Regions from separate parts of the Homo sapiens genome. Here all the other regions are linked to region 1. The links are contacts of gene promoters, found by promoter capture Hi-C in blood cells and fetal thymus (Javierre and others, 2016). All regions are on one chromosome and are shown on one strand. The core of a region is centred on a gene start or on the middle of the fragment in contact, and the rest is flanking DNA. Distances in the headings are between cores, read along the strand shown. Region 1 holds the start of CDKN1B (cyclin dependent kinase inhibitor 1B). Region 2 holds the start of LOC124902876. Region 3 holds the start of ATF7IP (activating transcription factor 7 interacting protein). Region 4 holds the start of PRH1-TAS2R14 (PRH1-TAS2R14 readthrough). Region 5 has its middle 26 kb from the start of LINC01252. Region 6 has its middle 8.3 kb from the start of ETV6. Region 7 overlaps ETV6 (ETS variant transcription factor 6).

Evidence for each region. Contacts are between HindIII fragments. The CHiCAGO score rates a contact against its expected background, and 5 or more counts as called.
Region 2: a contact is called between a fragment that was not itself captured here and the fragment with the promoter of CDKN1B in region 1, in 3 of 17 cell types (total CD8 T cells, naive CD8 T cells and M0 macrophages). The highest score is 8.8, in total CD8 T cells.
Region 3: the fragment with the promoter of ATF7IP here is called in contact with the fragment with the promoter of CDKN1B in region 1 in 1 of 17 cell types (activated CD4 T cells); the score reaches 5.3 in activated CD4 T cells.
Region 4: the fragment with the promoter of PRH1-TAS2R14 here is called in contact with the fragment with the promoter of CDKN1B in region 1 in 1 of 17 cell types (fetal thymus); the score reaches 9.3 in fetal thymus.
Region 5: a contact is called between a fragment that was not itself captured here and the fragment with the promoter of CDKN1B in region 1, in 2 of 17 cell types (M0 macrophages and naive CD4 T cells). The highest score is 6.9, in M0 macrophages.
Region 6: a fragment that was not itself captured here is called in contact with the fragment with the promoter of CDKN1B in region 1 in 1 of 17 cell types (fetal thymus); the score reaches 6.3 in fetal thymus.
Region 7: a fragment that was not itself captured here is called in contact with the fragment with the promoter of CDKN1B in region 1 in 1 of 17 cell types (neutrophils); the score reaches 6.4 in neutrophils.

Annotation. Positions count from the first base shown.
Region 1 is chr12:12,715,295-12,718,617 of GRCh38, reverse strand. It overlaps CDKN1B (cyclin dependent kinase inhibitor 1B), which reads right to left and starts at 1,250. Exons shown (of 3, transcript NM_004064.5): 1 at 304-1,250. The coding sequence starts at 778. It also overlaps a transcript of GPR19 not described here. RefSeq lists silencers at 684-872, 1,297-1,866 and enhancers at 1,047-1,146, 1,227-1,276. The HindIII fragment of the contact is 7,251 bases long and covers 1-3,323 here.
Region 2 is chr12:10,719,790-10,723,112 of GRCh38, reverse strand. YBX3 (Y-box binding protein 3) reads left to right here. Exons shown (of 10, transcript NM_003651.5): 1 at 1-263. The coding sequence starts at 2. It overlaps LOC124902876, which reads right to left and starts at 61. Exons shown (of 2, transcript XM_047429946.1): 1 at 1-61. The coding sequence starts at 3. RefSeq lists silencers at 1-14, 145-544. The HindIII fragment of the contact is 949 bases long and covers 776-1,724 here.
Region 3 is chr12:14,364,039-14,367,361 of GRCh38, reverse strand. It overlaps ATF7IP (activating transcription factor 7 interacting protein), which reads right to left and starts at 1,680. Exons shown (of 15, transcript NM_018179.5): 1 at 1,535-1,680. It overlaps LOC124902884 (a long non-coding RNA gene), which reads left to right and starts at 172. Exons shown (of 2, transcript XR_007063220.1): 1 at 172-2,013. RefSeq lists enhancers at 1-104, 1,461-1,520, 1,991-2,050, 1,282-2,099. The HindIII fragment of the contact is 10,385 bases long and covers 1-3,323 here.
Region 4 is chr12:11,169,911-11,173,233 of GRCh38, reverse strand. It overlaps PRH1-TAS2R14 (PRH1-TAS2R14 readthrough), which reads left to right and starts at 1,623. Exons shown (of 5, transcript NM_001316893.2): 1 at 1,623-1,812. It overlaps SMIM10L1 (small integral membrane protein 10 like 1), which reads right to left and starts at 2,040. Exons shown (of 1, transcript NM_001271592.2): 1 at 1-2,040. The coding sequence starts at 1,877. The coding sequence ends at 1,671. It overlaps PRH1-PRR4 (PRH1-PRR4 readthrough), which reads left to right and starts at 1,609. Exons shown (of 10, transcript NR_037918.2): 1 at 1,609-1,812. It also overlaps a transcript of PRH1 not described here. The HindIII fragment of the contact is 883 bases long and covers 1,120-2,002 here.
Region 5 is chr12:11,572,643-11,575,965 of GRCh38, reverse strand. No RefSeq gene overlaps it. Among named protein-coding and RNA genes, the nearest start is that of LINC01252, 26 kb to the right of the region's middle. The HindIII fragment of the contact is 233 bases long and covers 1,590-1,822 here.
Region 6 is chr12:11,639,700-11,643,022 of GRCh38, reverse strand. No RefSeq gene overlaps it. Among named protein-coding and RNA genes, the nearest start is that of ETV6, 8.3 kb to the left of the region's middle. The HindIII fragment of the contact is 531 bases long and covers 1,224-1,754 here.
Region 7 is chr12:11,658,541-11,661,863 of GRCh38, reverse strand. The region is part of intron 1 of ETV6 (ETS variant transcription factor 6); the gene reads right to left. Among named protein-coding and RNA genes, the nearest start is that of ETV6, 11 kb to the right of the region's middle. The HindIII fragment of the contact is 5,715 bases long and covers 1-3,323 here.

The DNA.
Region 1 (3,323 bases), core at 1-2,500:
CCCTAGCCAGGAGGCGGACCGTTGATAAACATCCCAACTTTGTCACATACCTAGGAGTTGCTAGTGAGAGGGACCGCGATGTATTAAGTTAGGGAAATTATCGGATCTTACCATCTCCAGTTTCTGACTTAAAAGTCACAAACAGACAAGCAGTGGGCCAGGTAGCACTGAACACCTAAGACCAATAAAGTTAGCTCTCCCAAAGCTAAATCAGAATACGCCGAAAAGCAAGCTAAGGTTAACACCCTCCAGCAGGCAAAGCGGGGCCCCAAACACATTCTATGGTTGGGAAAGGGTCATTACCGTCGGTTGCAGGTCGCTTCCTTATTCCTGCGCATTGCTCCGCTAACCCCGTCTGGCTGTCCGACGGATCAGTCTTTGGGTCCACCAAATGCGTGTCCTCAGAGTTAGCCGGAGCCCCAATTAAAGGCGCCGCCGGGCGGCTCCCGCTGACATCCTGGCTCTCCTGCGCCGGCACCTTGCAGGCACCTTTGGGGGGCCGCGGGGGTCTGTAGTAGAACTCGGGCAAGCTGCCCTTCTCCACCTCTTGCCACTCGTACTTGCCCTCTAGGGGTTTGTGATTCTGAAAATCGAAATTCCACTTGCGCTGGCTCGCCTCTTCCATGTCTCTGCAGTGCTTCTCCAAGTCCCGGGTTAACTCTTCGTGGTCCACCGGGCCGAAGAGGTTCCTGCAGGCCGAGGGCTTGGGGTGCTCCGCCTGCCTGGCGTCCATCCGCTCCAGGCTAGGGCTCCCGTTAGACACTCGCACGTTTGACATCTTTCTCCCGGGTCTGCACGACCGCCTCTCTCGCACTCTCAAAAAAACAAAACCGAACAAAACAAAGCGCCCCTACGCAGCCCGAACCCCTCTCGGAAGCCCAGCGACTGCCCTCGGAGCCAAAAGACACAGACCCCGACGAGCCACGGCCCGAGCTCTAGGAGCGCGCAGGGGCTGCGGGGAAGCCCCGGCCCGGCCGCCGAGTCTCCGCTGATCAAATGGACTGGCGAGCGGGAGGGCGGAGAGGAGAGGGGACCAGGCAAGCGGAGAGGGTGGCAAAGCCCGTCCGAGTCTGGGCGGGTGCAAGCCCGCGGGTCCCGCGAACCCAGCCGCTCTCCAAACCTTGCCGGCGTCGGAGTCGCAGAGCCGTGAGCAAGCGGGGACAGGGGAGGGGGAGAAAAACACCCCGAAAAGACGAGCCCCCTTTTTTTAGTGGCCCAATATGGCGGTGGAAGGGAGGCTGACGAAGAAGAAAATGATTGACACGGCGAGTCTATTTAAACAGAGGAGGAGATCCATTGGTTGCGGCGGCGGGAGCCGCCCCGCCGAGGCTGGCGAGCGCGGCCTTAAGGTGGCCCCGGCGCGGTTCCGCCACCTCCCCTCGTTCCCGAGCGCGCCGCCTCCCCGAGCGCCGCCGGGAGATTGGCTGGTCGCGTGACTGCTGGAGGGGTACTGCTGCCAACAAACCTGCTCTGGCTGGCCTCGGAGAAATTAAAATTAAGACAAACAAACTAGCCAAACGGCCGGGAACCTGGGGCGGGGCCTGAGGTTCGGGGCCCGGCGCTGCGTTGGCGGGTTCGCCGCGGCGCCTAAGCCCCGACCTCCCTCCCGCTCCTCGCCCGGGAAGCCGGGACCTGGACCAGAGGACCGCGAAGGTCGCCGGCAGCTCGCTAGGAGCCGGGGTGGCGAGCTGCCCCCAGCTCGGCCCTCCCCAGCGGCCCCCACCTCGTGGTCTGCGGGGGAGGCCGCGGAGCGTTTGCTGGGGGGGCTGGGCGCCCCCCCGCCGGCGTGCCTTTGCTGGGGGCTGGTGGAGGCAGTGGGCAATGGTTCGCTCAGCCTTAACCCAGAAGTTTCTGCCATCCCTGGGGAGGCTGGGGGCCTAGGGAAGAAGCCAAAGCGAACGTCTTTCTTTTAGAAATTAGCCAGGAGTAGACGCGGCACTTATCATGAACTCAAGCTCTCCCTCAATGAAAATAAGAAAGGAACTCAAGATTAAAAAAAAAAAACAAAAAACTCTAGTCTCTCAAGTCCCTTAATAAACTTTGTAGCTGTCTCAGACACGTTTAGTTTTGAAAAACGAGGGTACACCCCTGGCCCAGGATCTTCCTTCCCAAGCACAGTTAAGGCCATGGACATTGGCTGCGTGTGGGAACTCGTCCCTTTCTACTTTTCTGTTCTTTCCCGGGATTGTAGCAGTTTCCTCTACCTGAGTCCAGCCGCCAAATACAACAGCTCCTTCCTTCCTCCACCCTTCTCTCTCACCAGATTTCACTGCTCCAACAAACTCAGAACAATATTCAGATGCTAGTGAATGCTTTCAGAGGGCTGAAGGGTGAAAATACTCCCCTCGGGGTCAAACTCCAGATGATGAAATGATTTTTAAAACACCACAACCATGTCCTAACGTCCGATACTAGTATTCCAGCGTTTCTCTTCTCCCTTTTGCAGCTGGAAATTTCTCTCTCAGTGTGGGCTTGAGCACCGTGGTGGAAGGTAAAGTAGGACGATGAGCAGGGCTGCCCTGAGACAAAGCTCAGTGGATCTTCAACTGCCTCCCCACCCCCATGCCCGGTACCCATCATCTTGGTTTGAGCCAAAGTTAATGCATTTTACTGGAAACCAACCTTCCGTTCTAATATTACACAGCAGCAAAGTTTTCTTAAGCACCTATGCTACAGATGAGCTTGATGTGTAGCTTGTTTTCTTAGCCACATCTTGTCCACTTTGTGTGCCTACCTCATCTCATACGCTCCAGAATGTGACAGCTGGAAGGGACCCTCGGGACCCTGTGGTTTAACCCTCTCCTTTTTACCACGGAGGAAATCGAGACTCAGAGAGGTTTCCTGTCCAGGGACATGCATTCGGTTGGTACCGGAGTCAGGACTAGATGCAAGTCTCCTAACACTCAGGTTGGTTCATTTTCTGTTCCTTTCCTTCCTAATGGTTCTCACTGGTTCAGGGTTTTGTCTGAGTTTGATTGTGCTGTAGTCTGCAGGTCCTGCTGTCTTACAAGTGACTGAAAATGGCTCCTTCCCAGGCCCTGGGTTGCCTGCAGATGTTTCCTTGATGTGGCCTGTGGTCACTGATATTTAAATGCAGCTGTCTTGAGCCTGTGGTATCACCATCCACTAGTTCAACTAAAATTGAAGGACAGGGGTTGATACCCAGAGAACAGTAAAGGGGGCAGTGCCCAGAACTAGTTTTCAAGTCAGGACTTCCTACCTAACTGACAGAAAAGAATTCACCTAGGATCAAGCAAGAGGTCTCATCCTCTTTAGTTTTTCTACTTTTAAGGCTGTCAATTTATTGGACTGCAGACTGGGGG
Region 2 (3,323 bases), core at 1-2,500, 2.0 Mb after region 1:
CATGAGTGAGGCGGGCGAGGCCACCACCACCACCACCACCACCCTCCCGCAGGCTCCGACGGAGGCGGCCGCCGCGGCTCCCCAGGACCCCGCGCCCAAGAGCCCGGTGGGCAGCGGTGCGCCCCAGGCCGCGGCCCCGGCGCCCGCCGCCCACGTCGCAGGAAACCCCGGTGGGGACGCGGCCCCCGCAGCCACGGGCACCGCGGCCGCCGCCTCTTTAGCCACCGCCGCCGGCAGCGAAGACGCGGAGAAAAAAGTTCTCGGTGAGTCAGGCCAGGGAGGGCAGGGGCTGCCGTAGTGGGGCGGGCCCAGCCGGCCGCGGAGCACGTGTGGGCAGCTCGCGCTACATCTCCCACCCGGGCTGGAGACGCTGACAGCACAGGGTCCCCAGGGATCTCCGGGTCCCCAGGGGTCTCCGGGTCCCCAGCGCTGGCCGCCTCCCTTGCCGGCGCTCCCAGGTGAGCGCGCTGCGCCCTGCGCTCCTGGCGGCCGTGTGCATCTCCCTTCTGGTTCCGGGCCAGAAAGTTTAGGTCTTAACTTCTGTCTCCCAGACGGGCACTGTTGCGGATTCGCGTGGTGGAAAATGCCTGCGTTTGGAGAAGAAAGGAGAGGCAGTCTGGGAGAGGGGACCTTGGGTAGGGATGGATGTAGGGGAAGGACCGACACGTGGGCCTGGCGCTTTGGGGTCCTTGCTTGGGATCTGGGAAAGGAGAGCATTTCCTTTGGGGAAGAGGAGGGCGCTAGAAGGAGACGGGGAGGGAAAGATAGAAAAGCTTCTTGCCAGGAAGGGTCAGGTGTCTGTCCCTGACGCCCTTCCCACATGGGCATGGGAAAGACGCCATGCTCCTGTTGGCCACATGCCAGCAAAGAGATGTTGCAATCGTCTCCGGGAAACTTGGGTCTTAGTCCCACGTCTTCCTCCCCCTCTCTGTGCCCACGGCTGCAAACAGCCATTCAGTGTCCACCAATGGCTACACGCTTCCCTCTTCCCGGACTGTGGGAACGCACGTGGTGTAGCAGCTGAAAAAACTTTGTCGGAAGTGGGGGTATGACGTTAGTTCAAAACATTGTTACCTTGGCACTTGTAACGTAGGAAGGGAAACAGGAAGATGAAATGTTGAGATTTGGGGGGGCAGTGGATGGAAAGGGTTTCTGTGATGGTTGTTGGTTTAGTCACATAACAAGCGTTCTTTTCGTAAGTAACGCCCCTGTGTGAGTTCTTAAACGCTTGCAAAGCAGGTGGGTGGTGAATAACCTCCCTAAAGGGTGTGTGTCCATATCGTTCGCTCTTATAAACAGGAACGTTAACAGATGGTGTAGGATGCTTCGGAGACCTCTTCACTATTTGGGGTGGGGCATGTTTGTCTCATCTCTCTGAGCCCTACTTCCCCTTTGGGAAGAAAGTTGAGGGAGCAATGTGAGAGAAGTGTATTCAATATTCCCCACCTTGAGAGGACTATTTTCTTGTTTTTTTTTTCTAGGGCTTTTACTAAGTCCCTACCAAACAACATGCTAATTGTAACCTGTGTAGGTTAAGAAACAAAATAGGCCTGATTTTGCTGGACTAAAAGTTGCTTAAATCTAGTCAGTAGTACATTGTGATGTTGTTTCTAGCAAATATTTCTTGGAACACTTTCTGCCAGATGTCTGAGAGAGAAAACCTTGTGTTCTCCAAAGCAGTGTTAGGATAACATTGTTAATGATACCTTATTTTGTAGAAAGCTTTTGCGGTTTTTCACTTAATCCTGTACTGTTCTGAGATTGGGAAAGCAGATACTATCTTTAAAGATGAAGGAAACAGATAAATGAAGGTTAATTTCCTCAAGCAACTGCCTCTGCAGATCCCTGGTGATGAGTCTGATGCCTTTTATCTTTCCACTCTTACTGCGTCTCTCTAAAAATGAAGGACAGCCCTTTCTACGTGACACCTCAACACTGTTTGTCTCTGTCTAGTGTGTCCTGCCATCCCCTTTCCTTTGCCAAGCAAACACATAGATGCCTAAGATGTACTAGGCACAATGCTGACTAAAATGGATATGTTCTAGTATTTGCAAATGGGCCTTCACTTGAGTTTATAAGCACATAGGCCAGGAAAAATAGTTTTCATGAGTGCAAAAAAATTTTCCTTCTGATAAATGTTATGGAAATCTATGGTCTTCCTCCCCAACCCTTCCCCTTAGTGTATATGAAGTGGGTTTATGGTTTAAAGCAAGACGTGGGAATGAATTTGATCATAAGAAGTCCTTGGAGAAGTATTTGCGGAATTACGAAACTTTTTTAAACTACATTGGAGAGTAAAAATAACCTTCAGCTTGGATTGAGGTTAGACCTGAGAATTATTTATCATCTTTTTCCTTTATTATTAGTATTGTCATTTTAATCAAGATTATTCCTTCAACAATGCTAGATATTAAAAACAGTTCCAGTCTTTATATTTTCCCAGGTAATTAATTTTTTGGGCAAATGAAAAGAGGCACTAAACGCATATTATTTGGAATATTGCCTGACTTAAATGCATATAATGTATCAAAAACAGGCCTCTACTGTGTACATTTGCATCGAAAACATCAACTGTTTTTTTCTCCTTTGCCTTGCTGCTCCAATCAGAGTGGCCTCAAACGTAAGATGGCCTGGGTTTGATCTCTCCTTTGGAGAGATGAGAGATCTTTGGAATTAAAGCTGGAGAATGCCTCATCAGTGTAGACTGCATAACTTTGGAGATATAAAGACATGTTTTTTTTGTTTTGGATTTTCTTTCCCCCAACAAAGAGAGCTAAAGTATTTTCCCAAGTGTATCAGTCTAGCAAACTTCAGAACTACCCCTGCCTACAACAGAGCAAGTCTTAATTACTATTTTAGTTTTGAATTTAAAAGTGAAGCCTTATTGTTTATCCTTGGAAATTATAAACTTTGTATCTTATGAAAAGACAGTATGGATTGATGTTAATAATTACTTTCATTCTCTACTGAGGCTTTTTTCTTTATTTTTTCTTTAAGGTAATCTATTATCAGGTTTCCTGTTTCATTGAGTCTTTATAATTGCTTTTTGCACTTCCTGAATTGAGACAGGGGCATTTCCTAGAAGTACTGAATTTGTCATTCATAATTGATTCCAAAGATCATATTTGAAATAGTTGAGATAAATATAAACCTACAAAATACAAGTTACATGAAGTTTTATTTTGTTTAGATTCCTTCTCTCAATTCTGCTAAAATCAGGCATTGTAGAGAAGTGGTCCTGCTCATGAGGTAGAGACAACCATTATGGTAAAGAGGGGGATTTTATGGAAAAATGCTTAAGTTTGATTCGCAAAACTGTAGAG
Region 3 (3,323 bases), core at 431-2,930, 1.6 Mb before region 1:
CTTTCCTACCTCCATTCTATCTCATATGTGACGTCATTTAAAAATCCACCAACCAAAAGTATTACTTTCAATTACATCTAGGTAATATTTACTAATGGTATTTGTTTTAGGCAATAAAAATTTCCCTAAATTAACCGAGATTATAAAGCAAGAGGCACGTCTTCATTTGACAGTAGACTGATTCAAACTTAAAGAGTTATAACCAACCAAGAAACCAGTTGTTGTATATATGAACCACAAATGAAGTCTATGGAAAACATTTGCAAGTTTCTTTGCTTAGTAAGAAAGAATTTGCACAACGGGAGAATCATATCAAATCTTATATAACTTCCCCCAATTGTGTTACATAAGATTTAACTATAGTTGACACTACCATTTTAAACTAATCAGTAGCATATTTATAATTACCTTCCCTAAAAAACTATTAATAAAACCAGGAGCACACTTACAATTAAAAAATCAAACACAACTGTATCTTACACACATGCATACAGTACAGTGTTTAAAAGAAAAAAACAGATTTTTTTTATTAATGGTCCACTTTCTTCAAAGAGGCCTCAGGGTAATGGATGTTCTTTCTAGAATTCTTCATCAGAAAAATTTACCAAATAAATGTTATAGCTTACATATCATAGCAAACAAAAATGCTAAGAAAATGAGTTGATTAATTTCAAAAGTAACAATAATCTAGCTGAAGCAGTAATGAACAAGTCACCTAAGAAACTTAAAACATGTAAAATTCAAATGCCCAGAAACATACAAACTGATTAAAATTAAAACTTTATTTACTTAGGATCAAACATTTAAAACCAAAATAATCCTCAGATTGAGATTTCATTTTCGATTATACTGTAATTTCTTCCACTATTCCCGTTCCCCCAATATTCCCAAAACTAAAATTGTTTCTGTTTTGTAAACATTCCACACATCCATAACAGAACAGGTAAAAATAGGGTTAAAAATGTATTTGCAAATATGCAGTTCAAATAAATGCACTTCCCGTGAGAACACCACTAGGTGCTGATCTTTACCACCGTAAATATAAACCTGAATCCAGTAATACTTTAAAACTGAAATTATAATCAAGAACCACAAATGAAAATCATTTTTACAGAAAATTAAGTCCACAATTTTTCAAAAAATCGAAAAAACAGAGAAGAGCTTGAGGTCGGCCCAGGAGTACAACATTAGAGTAATGTTTTTCTTGAAAATTGTGAGAATTTAAGGTTAACACAAAGAAACCCCTCAAGAACGAGGAAAATTAAATCTAGAACCCAAATGGCGTCCAACAAGAACATTAGATCTTGAAAATGAATATTGCGCTTGCGCAGCCACCGCCCCGCCAGCTGCACAACTGCAGCTAGAGCCCGACCCCGCAAGATCACGTGCTCCCATGCAGCGCCGCCCGCAGCTCCGCAACCGCGCAGGCGCAGACACAACTCCCGCAGCCGCCATAATGCGGTCTTGACTCTTCAGAAATACAATAGTAATTTAAGAAAATGTGGTTTTAACAGCCCCTGGGATTCACATATACCTTTTGGGGCGGAAGCTGAGGGAGGGGGAACCAAGTTCCTTCCTACAGAGCCGTCCCGCGCAGCCGTCCCCGACGTTGCCGCCTCAGCTTTTCGCGCGCTTCAGTCGCCGCGCCGCCGCTGCCACCGCCGCCGCCTCCGCAGATTCAAAAACAAACCCGCTTCTCCCTTGCACGCGCCGGGGCCGTTATGCAAATTAATATGGGCGGGGCTCCGGGGGGTCGTGCTATGTACCCCGCCCACTGTGCTATCAGCCAATAAGCTCAAGGACTAGCCATTCCCCATGCAAATTCTGGTTTTTTATTTGAATGAGGGACATTGGCCCCGCCTCCTGCGTGGAAAAGAGAAGGAAGCCCGAGGTGGTGGCGCTGCGTCTCTCAGTTGCAGTGTGAGGTGTGTTTTTTGAGTGGATCTTCCTCAATCAATAAGTAGCACTTTGTGAGCGCCCTCTATGAGGCTTAGAAAAGAAAGAAGGAAGGAGGTAGGTGAGAGTTTAAAGAGCAGAGGGAAAGATTTTCATAAAAGCCAGGAGTATGTTGATTTATTCATCATTTATGTTTTAAATTCACAGAATGTACTTTGAATTGTATTAATAATGAAGGAATGAAAAAAACATACTTTCTTTCAGTTGCTTGGTAACAGAGCAAGCACTTTTTATCATACTCTCTCACCAGAAGTTGTATTCATCCCATTTATTCAATTTCATGCTGGGAGTCGGCCTTTAATGAATTCCACAGGAGGTAGTGGACAAGTCACTGCCTTACTGGTTAAGAGATCTGGGTTCAAGTTCAACTACTGCAGCTTCCTTGCCGGTTCCTCGGAATAAGTGTGTTACTCAGTTTTCTCACCTGTATAATGGCAATCATGACTATAGTTGAACTAGGTTGGAAGCACTAAATGATAGAATAAATGTACATATGTTTTGGCCAGGTGCCGTGGCTCAGGCCTGTAATCCCAGCACTTTGGAAGTCTGAGGGGGGGTGGATCACCTGAGGTCAGGAGATCAAGACCAGCCTGGCCAACATAGTGAAACCCCGTCTCTACTAAAATTACAAAAATTAGCTAGGCATGGTGGTGCGTGCCTGTAATCCCAACTACTCAGGAGGCTGAGGCAGGAGAGTTGCTTGAACTGGGACCTGGGAGGCCGAGATTGCAGTGAGCGAAGATCTCACCACTGCACTCCAGCCTGGGCTACAGAGCAAGACCCCTTATCAAAAAAAAAAAAAAAAAAAAAGAATAAAAGTACATATGTTTTGCAAGGCAAGAATAGCCTGAAAATAATATTAGATGGTACCGTGTGGTTATTGTTTTTTTATGTAACTTCTCATTATATGAATGTATTGGTTCAGTATTTATTTAGCAATCACTGTGTTGTAGATCTGTTAGGTGCCTGTCCTCAAGAAATCTGTACTCTAGTGAAGAAGACAGAAAACTGAACAAGAAATTTTTGTAACTAATAAGAAATTAGAATAGGGTTGTTAATACTTATTTTTATAACTGGAACCATTCAATTTACTTAAAATATAAGGTGGCCTTTAGAAATATCACCTAGGGCCGGGTGCAGTGGCTCACGCCTGTAATCCCAGCACTTTGGGAGGCCGAGGCGGGCAGACCATGAGGTCAGGAGATCGAGACCATCCTGGGTAACATGGTGAAACCCCGCCTCTACTAAAAATACAAAAAAAAAAAAATTAGCTAGTCGTGGTGGCACGCGCCTGTAGTCCTAGCTACTCGGGAGGCTGAAGCAGGAGAATCACTTGAACCCGGGAGGCAGAGGTTGCAGTGAGCCAA
Region 4 (3,323 bases), core at 374-2,873, 1.5 Mb after region 1:
CAGACATGGTGTTGGACGGGGCAAGATGCTTACTACTTAAAGCCATAGAACACTGTTTGCTGGACACAATGAGTGGAATATAGAACAATGCAACTATTTTAACACTTTACCCCTCTTAGTGGTTTATTAGTTAATTTTTTCCTGAAAAAAAAAATGCGTATACTACTTTTTCTGCACTTTTCTATATCAGATCTTGATTTAAAACTTTACCACTCTTGGTGATTTATTATTAGTTTTTTTAATCCGAAGAAAACATGTGTATACTCCTTTTTCTGCATTTTTCTATATCAGATCTTGATTGGCTCACCACCATTACACACACACACATCTCTTTTCTCCCATCCTCCCAGCGTTATAGAATCATTTGTTGTAAAATCAGTATTCAGTATTTACATAATTATGACTGACTTTACATGACTACTATTATTCACAGTTGAGGTATACCGTGTATACAGTGTAGTTTTTAAATTTTTATTTTTCTCAGCGTTCAAAATTATATGTTCTGTTTTCTTAATTTTGAAAAATATGCATTCACTAATTTATCCCCACACTCTTTGGAAAATGAAAGCTCTCTAGGCTGTATTCAAATACACCAGGTACTCTATCAATTTTCATTTTTTAAACTATTCTACCTGAGCTCTCCATCTTTAGCCATTTCCTGTTGACTTCATACTGTTCTCCCCTACCACTCTCCCTCTTTAATATATTACCGTTTTAGAAACTTTATGGCTACCCTGTAAGTAATAAAAATGTCTTTCCCCACTCAACAACAGACAGTACCTTTCAAGTTTCCACTTTATAAGGACATAACCCCCATTCCATTTACTTCCCCCGCCCTCCTTCAACATTCCCACTTGTATTTTCCGGCTGTATTTTTAAAACATGGTAAATAACATTTGCACTCCACTTTGTAACCATAATTAAGTATGCCCTTAAACAATAAAAACCATAAACAACATTTGTATTTTACGATTATTTAAATGTTATTCACTGAACAGCCAAGCTTTGTGCTACTATGGGATTTCGTTTTCTGCGGTTCCAAGTCTTGATCCACGTCCTGCCACAGGATCACTGAAGTAGAGCCCATTTTCTTACACTCTCGCCATTAGTTCAAAAGCTTGCAGCATTTTATGTCTGGTACTTGGAGGATGATTTTCCTGTACAGTTTTGCGTTTTTTTCACCGAAAATTTCTGATTATTATTGTTTTCTCTTGTGGGATGAAATATGTACCTTCTATATCACAGCCTTAATACCTTCAGCTTCTTATTCATTGAAATCTTGCTTACAATCCAGTCCGAGGATTCCCGGTTTACTGATTTTCTTTTTCCTGCAAATTTTAGCCTTCTGTTTTGTTTTGAAATAATGCATCCTCTGCGCTTTGTCACATTCTGAAATTCGTCAGGTGTTTTAGGATGCACACTTTCTTAGATGTTTTCGAGGGTCTTAACTGCAGTTCTGTTTCCGGAACAGCGTATTCTCTTTCTAGGGATTGTAGGCTCCCGGCCGCCCCCTGAGGAGCTCCGCTAGCAGCTAAGAGGGCAGCCACGAAGAGCGCCTGAGCACTCTCGCGAGACTGTGGGGCTCGCCATTGGCTGCTCCGCCGCGCCGCAACGGACCCTGGGAGTCGGCCATCATGCTGGCCCCGGAGGCCGTTAGCTTAGTCATGGCTCTAAATATGTACCTGCAATCGGATGTTGAGGATCACCGAGCCCGCGACGTAGAAGTACGGGAAGTTCATGCGCAGCTGCCAGGCCAGCTCGAAGAAGGCGAGCAGGGTGCGGGAGAGCCCCTTGCAGAAGACGCCGTACGAGGTGGGTGTCGCGGCGGGGCTTGAGGCCCTGACGGCCAAGGAGGACGGAGCCGCCGCGGGGGCCATGAGCCAGGTGTCGCCGCCCGCCCAGCGTCTGTAGCGAGGGTTGCCGCAGGGCCCGCGGACCTCCTAGCGACGGCTGGGACCGGCAGGACGGTAAGCAAAGCGGCTCCCGGGCTCACACCCAAGCTTGCCGCTGCCGCCGCTCGGTGCAGTGCGGCGCGTAGCCCCGGGCGCCGCTGGCGCTCCGCCCCTTCCTGTCTGCTTCTCACTGTGGCATTTACCATTTAGAGCTCAACTGATGGTAGGTGGCTCTGGAATAGGATGTGTTATATAGCATGTACGAACATCCATGCAGATAGTTCCACTTTAAAATGAAAAAATCTAAGCGAGATGTAACTTGCCGTAGGGCACAAAATTTGTAAGGGCCAAAGCTAGATTAAAACTTTAGTTTGTCTGCTGTGTTATGTGGGATGTTAGGAATCTTACCCTTTTGATTTCATAATATTAATATTAGGGCAAGATGATTCCTACGCCAATAAAAGCACAAGGTCTCTGTATTCATAATATACCATAGACATAAAAAGGATCACAATCTTAGTCTTTGGATTTTTCTATTTATTAGGAATATTTAAATTGCAAGTGACAGGAATGATAAACATTCAAGCAAAAAACTAGTGGACACACACGCGTATATACATAAGGACATACATACAAAATTATATTCCCAGCCATGTAAACCCTTAAAAAGTTCAGATTAGCTGTGGAAGCTTCAGCCATTTCTGCATGGAGATGCATCTGTGAAACCTGTGGCTAGGCTCCAAGAGCTGGAATACTACTCTGTACTTCCAAACTCTTTTTTTGTTGTTGTTTTTGAGACGGGAGTCTCGCTCTGTCGCCCAGGCTGGAGTGCAGTGGCGCGATCTCGGCTCACTGCAAGCTCCGCCTCCCGGGTTCACGCCATTCTCCTGCCTCAGCCTCCTGAGTAGCTGGGACTACAGGCGCCCGCCACCATGCCCGGCTAATTTTTTGTATTTTTTGGTAGAGATGGGGTTTCACCGTGTTAGCCAGGATGGTCTCGATCTCCTGACCTCGTGATCTGCCCGCCTCAGCCTCCCAAAGTGCTGGGATTACAGGCGTGAGCCACAGCGCCCGGCCTGTACTTCCAAACTCTTAATACCATTAGAGTAACAGCACAGTGAATCTCTAATAGCCACAATACTTTTGTTATTTAAATGGTGCACATTTCATTACCTTCACTTATCTCCCATTTTAACTAGAAAGCACTGTATTTTTTAATCGCACACACCGTCTTCATTCATGGATTATTCAAATGTGTGATTTCTGATCATGACCTTAAGGTTACAGTCTTGTTCTGAAAAGCATTGTTGAGATACCACACATCGCACCGTGCACTGCATGTCTAGCAGCTATTCAGAGCACAAGTACGGTACCCTAGAGTACCTCTGTTTCTATATAGTCTACTGATTATATGACTGGTAGAAATAACGT
Region 5 (3,323 bases), core at 457-2,956, 1.1 Mb after region 1:
CACTCTAAGGACCACCTTTCACTCTTTGCCTATATTTCATCTCATATTCTTCTACAACACATTGACAAAAAACATTAAAAATATAATAATTCCTAAACTGCATAGTTTGTGAGTCCCCTTTATATACATTATAACATTTAAGTTTTCTTTACAACAGTGGTTTTTATTTGGGGTTTGAGGGTAATTTTACCCCTCACTCCCTGGGGACATTTGGCAATGTCTGGAGACATTTTTGGTTGTCACACTAGAAGTTGGGGGAGTGGTACTGGCATCTAGTGGGCAGAGATCAGAGATGCTATGATGCACAGGGCAGCCCTACATAACAAAGAATTTTACAGCCCCAGATGTCAAGAGTGCTGATAATGAGATTGAGAAATCATGCTTCACAGTTTCCTCATATTATATAAGGAAAACTTAATGAAAACAGGCCCAGAATGGAGGGGAATCAACTAATGATGGAACAAAAGGTCTATCTAGCTATTGTAGTAGCAGTAGAGCATCACTAAGTATTTCAATACTTTGTCAATTATAAGAGAATGTAAGAATGAAGAGGATTTCATCTTTATGGCTGGAACAGTTGTTAGTTGATCTACTATTTGCATAGTTGAAGAGAACCAAGCACATAAAATCTTGTGAGTGGTATAGTTGATCAAAAGCAGACCTGCTCCCAGAAGTTATGACTCCAGACCATTGATGCTCACACCCAGGTAGAAAGGGTAGCATGTGAAGAAGACAGGGGCCTTATAGGTGGAGAGAAGCTTGCAGGTACATGATGTTTGCCACAGTTCACATTTGGCTGAGATAATGGGGATAAAAGTATGATTTTTCAAAGTGCTCTGTGGCCTTTTCCATCATTGCAAAGTAGTGGAGGCTTAGGGTTTTGTCCATAAGAGCAATTTAAAATTACTTCAAATTTCTGCAACTCTATAGTATTAACACATTTAAAGTAGATACAGAAATAAAAATGTGCATGACCCTTCATCAAGGATTCTTTTTATTATAATTTATAATTTCATCCAGATGGCCAATAATAGAATATAGGATTGCAATATAATTCATGAAAAGAGTGGTAAGGAAGAACTAATAGAGCAGCATAGTTTAATGTACAAAATTAATCAAATTCTCTAAATTGCTTGGTGCTGTGTTTTCAGTTTTAGTGTTGATATTTAGTATCTTTTTTTTTCTTGGCTAGAATGAGAACAAACTCTCTCACTGTTCTCACAAAGACATTCTGAAGTTTCTTGAAAACTATAGAATCTGACATTATGCTTGTGAAAGAGAGAGAAATCTCTAATTCAGGACCAAGTTACACAATGTGAAAAAGAGATTATGGCAAAAGAATTGGTGTCACCAGGTACCTCTGTGCATGTATAATTTTGATTAAAATAACAGATGGATCATATAGGCACAGAGATGGAAATTCTAAGAAAGAATTTAAAAAATGCCAGAGCTCAAAAACACTGTAACTGAAATGAAAAATGCCTTCAGTGGGCTCATCAGGAGACTGGACATGGCTGAAGAAAGAATCTTGGAACTTGAAGATATGTCAACAGAAACTTCCAAGACTGAAAAGCAAAAAGAAAAAAGCTTCAAAAAAACCCAGAATAGAATATCTAAGAACTGTGGGATAACTACAAAATGTGTAACATATCAGGATAAGAGAGAAAATAACAGAAGAAATATTTGAAGCAATAATGACTGAGAATTTTCCCAAACACTTGTCAGACACCAAACTGCAGACCCAGGAAGCTCAGAGAACATAAAGCTGGAAAAATGCCAAAAGAAAAAAAAAAAAGACACCTAGGCATATCATTTTCAAGCTTCAGAAAGATAAAGAAAAAATCCTGAAAGAAAACAGAGGAAAGAAACACCTTACCTATAGAGGAGCAAAGTTTAGAATTACAGCTGACTTCTCCATGGAAACCATGTAAATAAGAAGAGAGTGGAATCAAATACTAAACACGGTGAGAGGAAAAAATCCTACCGACTTAAAATTCTATGCCCTGTAAAATTATCCTTCAAAAATGAGGGAGAAATAAAGGCTTTCTCATACAAACAAAAAAATGAGGGAAACTGTTGCTGGTAGGCCTGCCTTCAAAGAAAGTTGTTGTTTTTTTTTTTTTTTTGAGACAGAGTTTCACTCTTATTGCCCAGGCTGGAGTGCAGTGGCGTGATCTCGGCTCACTGCAAACTCCGCCTCCAGGTTCAAGCAATCTCCTGCCTCAGCCTCCCGAGTAGCTGGGATTACAGGCATGCGCCACCACGCCCGGCTAATTTTGTATTTTTAGTAGAGATGAGGTTTCTCCATGTTGGTCAGGTTGGTCTTGAACTCCTGACCTCAGGTGATCCTCCCACCTTGGCCTCCCAAAGTGCTGGGATTACAGGCGTGAGCCACCGTGCCCAGCCAGAAAAATTAAAAGAAGTTCTTTAGTGACAAGGAGAATAATCAAGGTCAGAAACCTGGATCTACACAAAGAAAGGAAATGTACCAGAGAATGAGTAAATTAAAGCAAAATAAAATCTTTGATTTTTCTTAGCCTTACTTGATCTAGCAGATAATCATTTGTTCAAAATAATAGTAGTAATGATGTTTTTGATTATATGTGCTTATGTATATAACTTTGGTAAAAACAAATAATAGGCCAGGCACAGTGGCTCATGCCTGTAATCCCAGCACTTTGGGAAGCCAAAGCAGGAGGGTCACCTGAGCCCAGGAGTTTGAGACCAGCTTGCGAAACACAGCAAAACCTCATCTCTAAAAAAAAAAAAAAAAAAAAAAAAAAAATTAGCCTGGCATGGCTGTGTGTCCCTGTAGTCCCAGCTACTCTGGAGGCTGAGGCAGGAGAATAGCTTGAGCTCAGGAGATCAAGGCTGCAGTAAGCTGTGATTGCACTCCAGCCTGGGTGACAGAATGGGACCCTATCTCAATTAAATAAATAAAAAAAAAGGATGCCTTTCTGTTTTTTAAAAAATGAGTTATAGCCAGATGCCAAAAGTGTCTTTTTTCAATTTCTTGAAATATATACCCTAATAAAGAGGAAACATAAAAACTTGCATCAATATTAAAATTAAGAATGATACTCAAGATATTGCCAGAATCTGAAATAAATGTTCACTCTTTACAATTACTGTGGAGTTTGCAGTAGATTATTCTTGGGACAGGTGCTGGTCTTCAGATTCTTTCTTTTCTGGGCCCTTACCCCTTTCATACAGGCAATCTGGTCGCCATAGTACGATATTATATTATGTGACTCTGTTTCCCTGGCCATGATTTATATTGATCCAGGGTGACCATTTGTCTCTTATCATTATTCATGGCCTTT
Region 6 (3,323 bases), core at 240-2,739, 1.1 Mb after region 1:
TATTATACAGTCATCATACAATCAGAGAAGCAGAAGTGTGTGTGTGTGTGTGTGTGTGTATTCTGCTTCTTTGATTGCATGCTGACTGACATCATAAAAGAAATATATTTAAGGCAGCCATTTGGGAAGAGAAGATGGATGTAAAGTGGGTGAAACAAATTATAAGCTAGAACTCAAAAGCATGAAGTGGATCTCGTGAGAGTGAACCAAAACCCATATTAATTCTCATTGCCTCTGACCTTGATGGCCTGGGTGTTCCACACGAGCTGGAGTCCTTTGCCACAGAACTAAACACCCACATACCCGGCCCAGGAGTTGCAGAAGCTGAAGAAGGATCATGTTAAAGGTGGAGTAGTTGCAGCCCCAGTCACTGGCTCATCCCCATGAGGTGAGCCAACAGTTAAATGACCATGTGCATGAGCTAAAAAAATGTTTGCTGCTTTATATCTACCCTCCAAATCACTCCAGACTCTCCCTCTGTGGCCCACCATAACTAGAATCATAAAGGGAATTCTGGGAATGTAGTTCAACCTAGCCAAGTTGTCACATTATAAAGTCACTGCATATACTAATCAACTTTCCATCAGCCCACTCTTTGGCAGCTATATTTTTAGAATATTTCACAATTTTTGTCACATCTTTTTCTACCTGACCTTCAAACTACTGTCTTCCATATGTTTTCTCTTTATGGCTTCGCCACCTTTCTTACCAATGCCACCATATTGTTAACCTTTGAATTAATGAACCTCAGAATAAGTTTTGACATATTGATCTCTTCTATGCTTCATATATTGCCTGTTGCCAACTTTTTCTGTTTTATTCACAGATTCTCCTCTATATTTCCAGTTATCTTTCTAGAAGTAACAATTTTCTGGTTTGGATTCTTGCCATGTCCCTTTTTCCACCACCAAATTGTGTAGTTCATTTTCACTATTGAATCTTTCGTCTCTGCTAAAACACTATATTAGGTTTCTCTAGAGAAACAGAATCAATAGGATATAGATGGATGGATAAATAGATAGATACATAAGAGGAGATTTATTATGGGAATTGGTTTGTGCAATTATGGAGATTAAAAAGTCCCAAGATGTGCCATCTGCAAGCTGGGGAACCAGGAAACTGGTGGTATAATTGAGTCTGAGTCTGAGTCCAAGGGCCTGAGAAGGAGAGGAGCCAATGGTGTAACTCCCAGTTCAAGGCTGAAGGTCTGAGCACTAAAAGCTTCAATGTCTGAGGTCAGAAAAAGACAGATGTCCCAGCTCAAGAAGAGGAAGACAGAATTTGCCCTTCCTCCACCCTTTTGTTCTATTAGGGCTCTCAATGGGTTGGATGACACTTACCCACACCGGTGAAGGCAGTATTTTTACTCGGCCTATTGATTCCAATGCTAATCTCTTCCAGAAACACCCTCACAAACACACTTAAAGTAGTATTTTACCAGCTACTTGGCCATCTTGGCCCAGTCAATTTGACACATAAAATTAACCATCACAATCCTTACTTCATTATTCCAATTTCTATTTTTAGTCCTTGTTCATATTCAAAATTCACACAAACACACACACACACACACACACACTACGAAACCATTTGTTTTCTGTTAAGTAGTACCTGAAAACTACATCTTTCATGAATTCTTCTCCCATTGCTATAAACAGAAGGTATCCAAAAGATAAGCAGACAGTATGCTGGAGTGGATTTATTGTGTAAGATCCCTTCGTTAGGACCTGGGAGGGTCTCCTTTAATCAAAGCTTTAAGAAATGCATTGTTGCTGGGCAGGTTGGTGCACATATGTAGTCCCAGTTACTCAGGACACTGAGGTGGAAGGATCGCTTAAACCCATGATTTCAAGGCTGCAGTGAGCTATGATTTTGGCACTGAACTCCGACCTGTGCAACAGAGTTAGGGGCTCATCACTAGAAAGAAAAGAGAGAGAGAGCCAGAGACAGAAAAGAAAGAAAGCAAGAAGAGGGAAAGGAAAGGAGAGAGGAGGGGAGGGGGAGGGAGGGGAGAGGGGAAAAGAGGGAAAGAAAGAAAGGAAGAAAGAGAAAGAGAGAAAGAAAGCATTGCTGAAGCAAACACCAGAACCCTTTTGGAGTTCTATAGTAGCCATTCTCTGTAAGCCATTAATGTTGCCACCATCCCACAATTCACTGGGGATAGTGGGATACTGGAACAGAGGCACCAAGTGACATCACGTAACTATCTTTACTGCTAGGGACAAGAGAAACATGGTTGTAATAATGGACAGCAGAACTAAAGTGATAATCAGAATGGTTTGATCTTTGGTGTTGGCTAATTTATTTTGATATCCCTAGAATTAAGGTCGAAGTGGGGAGATCACTTGAGGTCAGGAGTCTGAGACCAGCCTGGCCAACATGGTGAAACTCTGTCTCTACTAAAAAAAACCAAAAAATTAGCCAGGCATGGTGGCGCGGGCCTGTAATCCCAGCTACTTGGGAAGTTGAGGTGGGAGAATCACTGGAACCTGAGAGTTGGAGGTTGCAGTGAGCCAAGAATGGGCGACTGCACTCCAGTCTGAGAGACAGACCGAGACTCTGTCTCAAAAATAAAATAAAATAAAATGATGGGTTACTAAAGCCTTACTTGATTTATATACACACAAAAAAAGTTCTAGGTGTGGAGTAGAAAAGTCTTGAGTTAAATTCCAGAGCAGTCCCGGATCCTCAGCTGATTGATTGCCACACCTGATCTAGTCCATAGACACAGAGCCCCTTGAATCAAGGGGAAGCAAGGCCTTTTGTGGAAGAATGCTGCTAGACTGCAAAAAATGTATTGTAAATCTTACTATCCTTTCCCAAAGGGATCTGTGGCCACTTATCAGTGTGATTGTACCTTGTGGGAGGGGAAATAAGTAGACTTTGGGAGGACTGCTGCACACTAGCACTGTTCCTAGAAACCCAAAATGTCACTGTGGTGCACCAGTCACAGTAGGGCCTTAAGAGGTCAGGAAATAAGTGGAGGTTTTGGCCTGAGTGCAACTCATAGTGGGTCTGGTGGATACCTGAACCCTAGGATTATTTTCCCAATTCTAAAATGCAGAGGTGGAATTCACATATTCAGCAAATGGCAGATTCCCAAATTGATTCCCCAAATTATGGGCCGTATTAGTCTATTTTCACACTGCTGATAAAGACATACCTGAGATTCGGTAATTTATAAAGAAAAGGAGATTTAATGGACTCACAGTTCCGCAGGGTGGCTGGGGAGGCCTCACAATCATGGAAGAAGGTGAAAAGCTTATCTTACATGGTGGCAGACAACAGAGAAAATCAGAACCGAGCAAAAGGGCTTTCCCCTT
Region 7 (3,323 bases), core at 215-2,714, 1.1 Mb after region 1:
AGCACACCCTCATCTCCTCACTCACAGCCCTGCCAGACACAAGGAGCCTCAGAAATGCAAAGAGGCAGAACACAAAATTCAGAAAGGGAGCCTTTGTTTCTTTGGTTCTCTGAAGGAAAACACTCTTACCTCACCAACAGGTATGCTCTCTCCTTCCACCTCACCCGAAAGTATCAGCGTCAGCAGATGAAGGGAAGGACTAAATGGCACAAAATCAAAGGAGCTGGCTGTTGTCCAGGGGACTGGAGGTGTAGTCAGCCAAATCAGGTCATTCAGGTCTCAAAGTCGGGGAGAACAGGAGACTTACCCAGCCTGAAGAATCTGTCACCCAGACTTTATCCCCAAAACAACAACTCTCCTACTGGGTTCACCCCACTTTGAATAAAGACCAGATCAAAAGGTACAAAGTGAGAGTGTCCTGCTGTTCCCAGCCATTGCTGGCCATTAGTGGCCGTCAAGACCTATTAGTCAGGAGAGTGACGGGTCTCAAAAGTGCAAAGCACCAGTCAAGTGAACTCATGACACGGATCTTTAAAATCTCCCAGATCTCAAGTCAAAATGAGGACAAAATGGCTGGGCACAGTGGTTCATGCCTATAATCCTAGCAGTTTGGGAGGCCGAGGTGGGAGGATCACTTGAGCCCAGGAGTTCTGAGAGCAACCTGGGCAACAAAGCAAGACCTCGTCTCCACAAAAAGTTTTTTAAAAAAGTAGCCAGGCAAGGTGGTGCACCTGTAGTCCTAGCTACTCCAGAGGCTGAGGCAGGAGGATCACTTGAGCCCAGGACTTTGAGGTTACGGTGAGCTATGATCACGCCACTGTAGTTCAGCATGGGTGACACAGCAAGACCTTAAAGAAAAGAGGATACAGCAATTACAAAATGCACCACGGATCCAATCCTTCAGATGTGCCATTTTTCCAAAACCTGTCACAGGGACTTGGGTTATGAGTATCCAAAGAGGCCCAAAGAAAAAGAACTCACCTCTGTCCCTTTGGGTGCCTGGTCTGTGATCCCAGGTCAATACATGAAAATAATTAGCAAAACCACAGAGGTGAGCCAAGAGACACTACCATGAGGCTTACTCTAGCAGGAGTCTGATTTGATGGCCAAGGGCAGTTTGGGAAAGACAAATGGTCTGGAAATAACAACCAGCAATAAACTTGAGAGAAGTTTCCTTCCCTAGTCTGAGTTCTTTAAAGCAGTTAACAAAAGAGCTTAGCAAATTCCCACCATGTCCCCCATCTCCCTTTTTTTTTTTTTTTTTTGAGACAGAGTCTCACTCTGTCGCCCAGGCTGGAGTGTAGTGGCACAACCTCAGCTGACTGCAACCTCCACCTTCCAGGTTCAAGAGATTCTCCTGCCTCAGCCTCCCGAGTAGCTGGGATTACAGGCACCTACCACCACACCCGGCTAATTTTTGTAGTAGAGACAGGGTTTCACCATGTTGGCCAGGCTGGTCTTGAACTCCTGACCTCAGGTGATTCACCCGCCTCGGCCTCCCAAAGTGCTGGGATTACAGGCGTGAGCCACCACGCCCCGCCCCATCTCCCTTTTTATGAAGTCTCCATAATACTTCCTCCTGTATACCCTAGTGCAGATCTACTTGTCCACATATTAGTCACTAGGCTTGAGACCATACTTATTCTAAATTGTCTCTTTGATTTTTTTTGTTGATATATAATAGTTGTACATATTTTGGGGGTACATGTGACATTTTGATATCTGTGCAGATGTGTAATGATCAGATCAGGGTAGCTGGCATATCTATTGCCTCAAACATTTTTCTTTTGTGTTAGGAACAGTACAATTCTTCTAGTTATTTTGAAATACACAATAAATTGTTAACTCTAATTTCCCTATTATACTAATGAATACTATAACACATTCCTTCTATCTAGCTGTATTTTTGTGCCCCTTCGCCAACTCCTCTTCATCCCTTGAACTTGATTCTTCATTAGAGACCCCGGCACTCTTCCAGGCCACACCTGCAAGTGAGGTGGGCAGCTCTGGGCCCTCCCTCTTCCTTCCTCACCTCTTAGCAGTGCCAGAACTTCCCCTGCCACAACCCAGATTCACACTTTCACCAGGGAAACAAGAGAAAGTACTGGGGGAATGGTTAACTTCAGAGACAGGCTGTTCTCTGGGGTTCGATTTTTTAAATTACGAGCCTTACTTCTATCTGTAGCTCATTTTTTCCAGGAAATGCTTTAGAGTCTGCATGTCATCTTTGGTTATGGCAATCTTACGTATAGGGGACGTAAGTGAAGCAGGATTACTGACCTCATCAAAGAGATAAGTCCTAAGAAAGATAAAGTTACACGGCCTGTCATAACCCAAGGGAGAGGGGACAGGGCAGCTGAGAAGAAAATCACAAACTTCCACTTGTGGTTTCCAGGAGAAGATCAGAGGAGCAGTTTCTCTCCAAACCTAAACTCTTGCTTCAAGAGTATTAAGTAGCCCACACTTATTGCATGGTGGTAGGAGGGACAGGTGGGTAACATTTTCTCCACAATTCCTCAAAAAAGGGTTATTTTCCAGTCTATAGTTCATCTTCTCATCTGCCATGTACATACAAAGAATGACTTAGGATCGAATTTAGGTCCACAGCAAGAAGAATACAACTGCTGAAAAGAGACACTTCGGTCCCCTCACATCTGCTAGAGAGGAAGGTTTCCCCATGCCCCAAAGTAACAAACTTGGCCTTTTCAAACTCTTCTGTATAATTAAACTTCCACGAAGGGCCATCTACTCCCTGCTCTTGAAAGTGAACATTCACCAGCCCACAGCAAACAGTGTCTGTTCTGTGGTCAGACAGACATGGAACTGCCTGTTAAACAAAAGCAGACTGGAGAATTGATGCTCTCTTTCAAGTCTCACCCCAGTCACAAATAATAAGCAACTGTATGAAGGAGCAGATCCCTGAATAGGTTCAAATACTTGAGCGCTGAGTAATAATGCTAGTTAGACTCACTGTACAGTACTTCCAGACTTAGGTTTTTTCCTTTTCTTTCATCTCTGGAAACTTATTCAGAACCACATTAGCTATTCCTTCAAAATTCTGCTGTAAGATGCAAAAGGCATTTGCTATTATCATATAATTGCACTTGGCTCATCTCTCCTATTGTTGAGGCTTGTATTCAATTAAAGTTAAAATAAGAGCTTTTTTGAGCACTGACTGAGTGACCCCAGCCCTGTGAACAACTCAATGGGACAGTGACAAGAGCACTGTGCAGGGAGTCAGCTGACTCGGGAGGCCTAGATTTTAGTTCAGATGGCACCACCAACTAGCCACACGAGCTTGAGCAAGGCCATTAACATCCCTG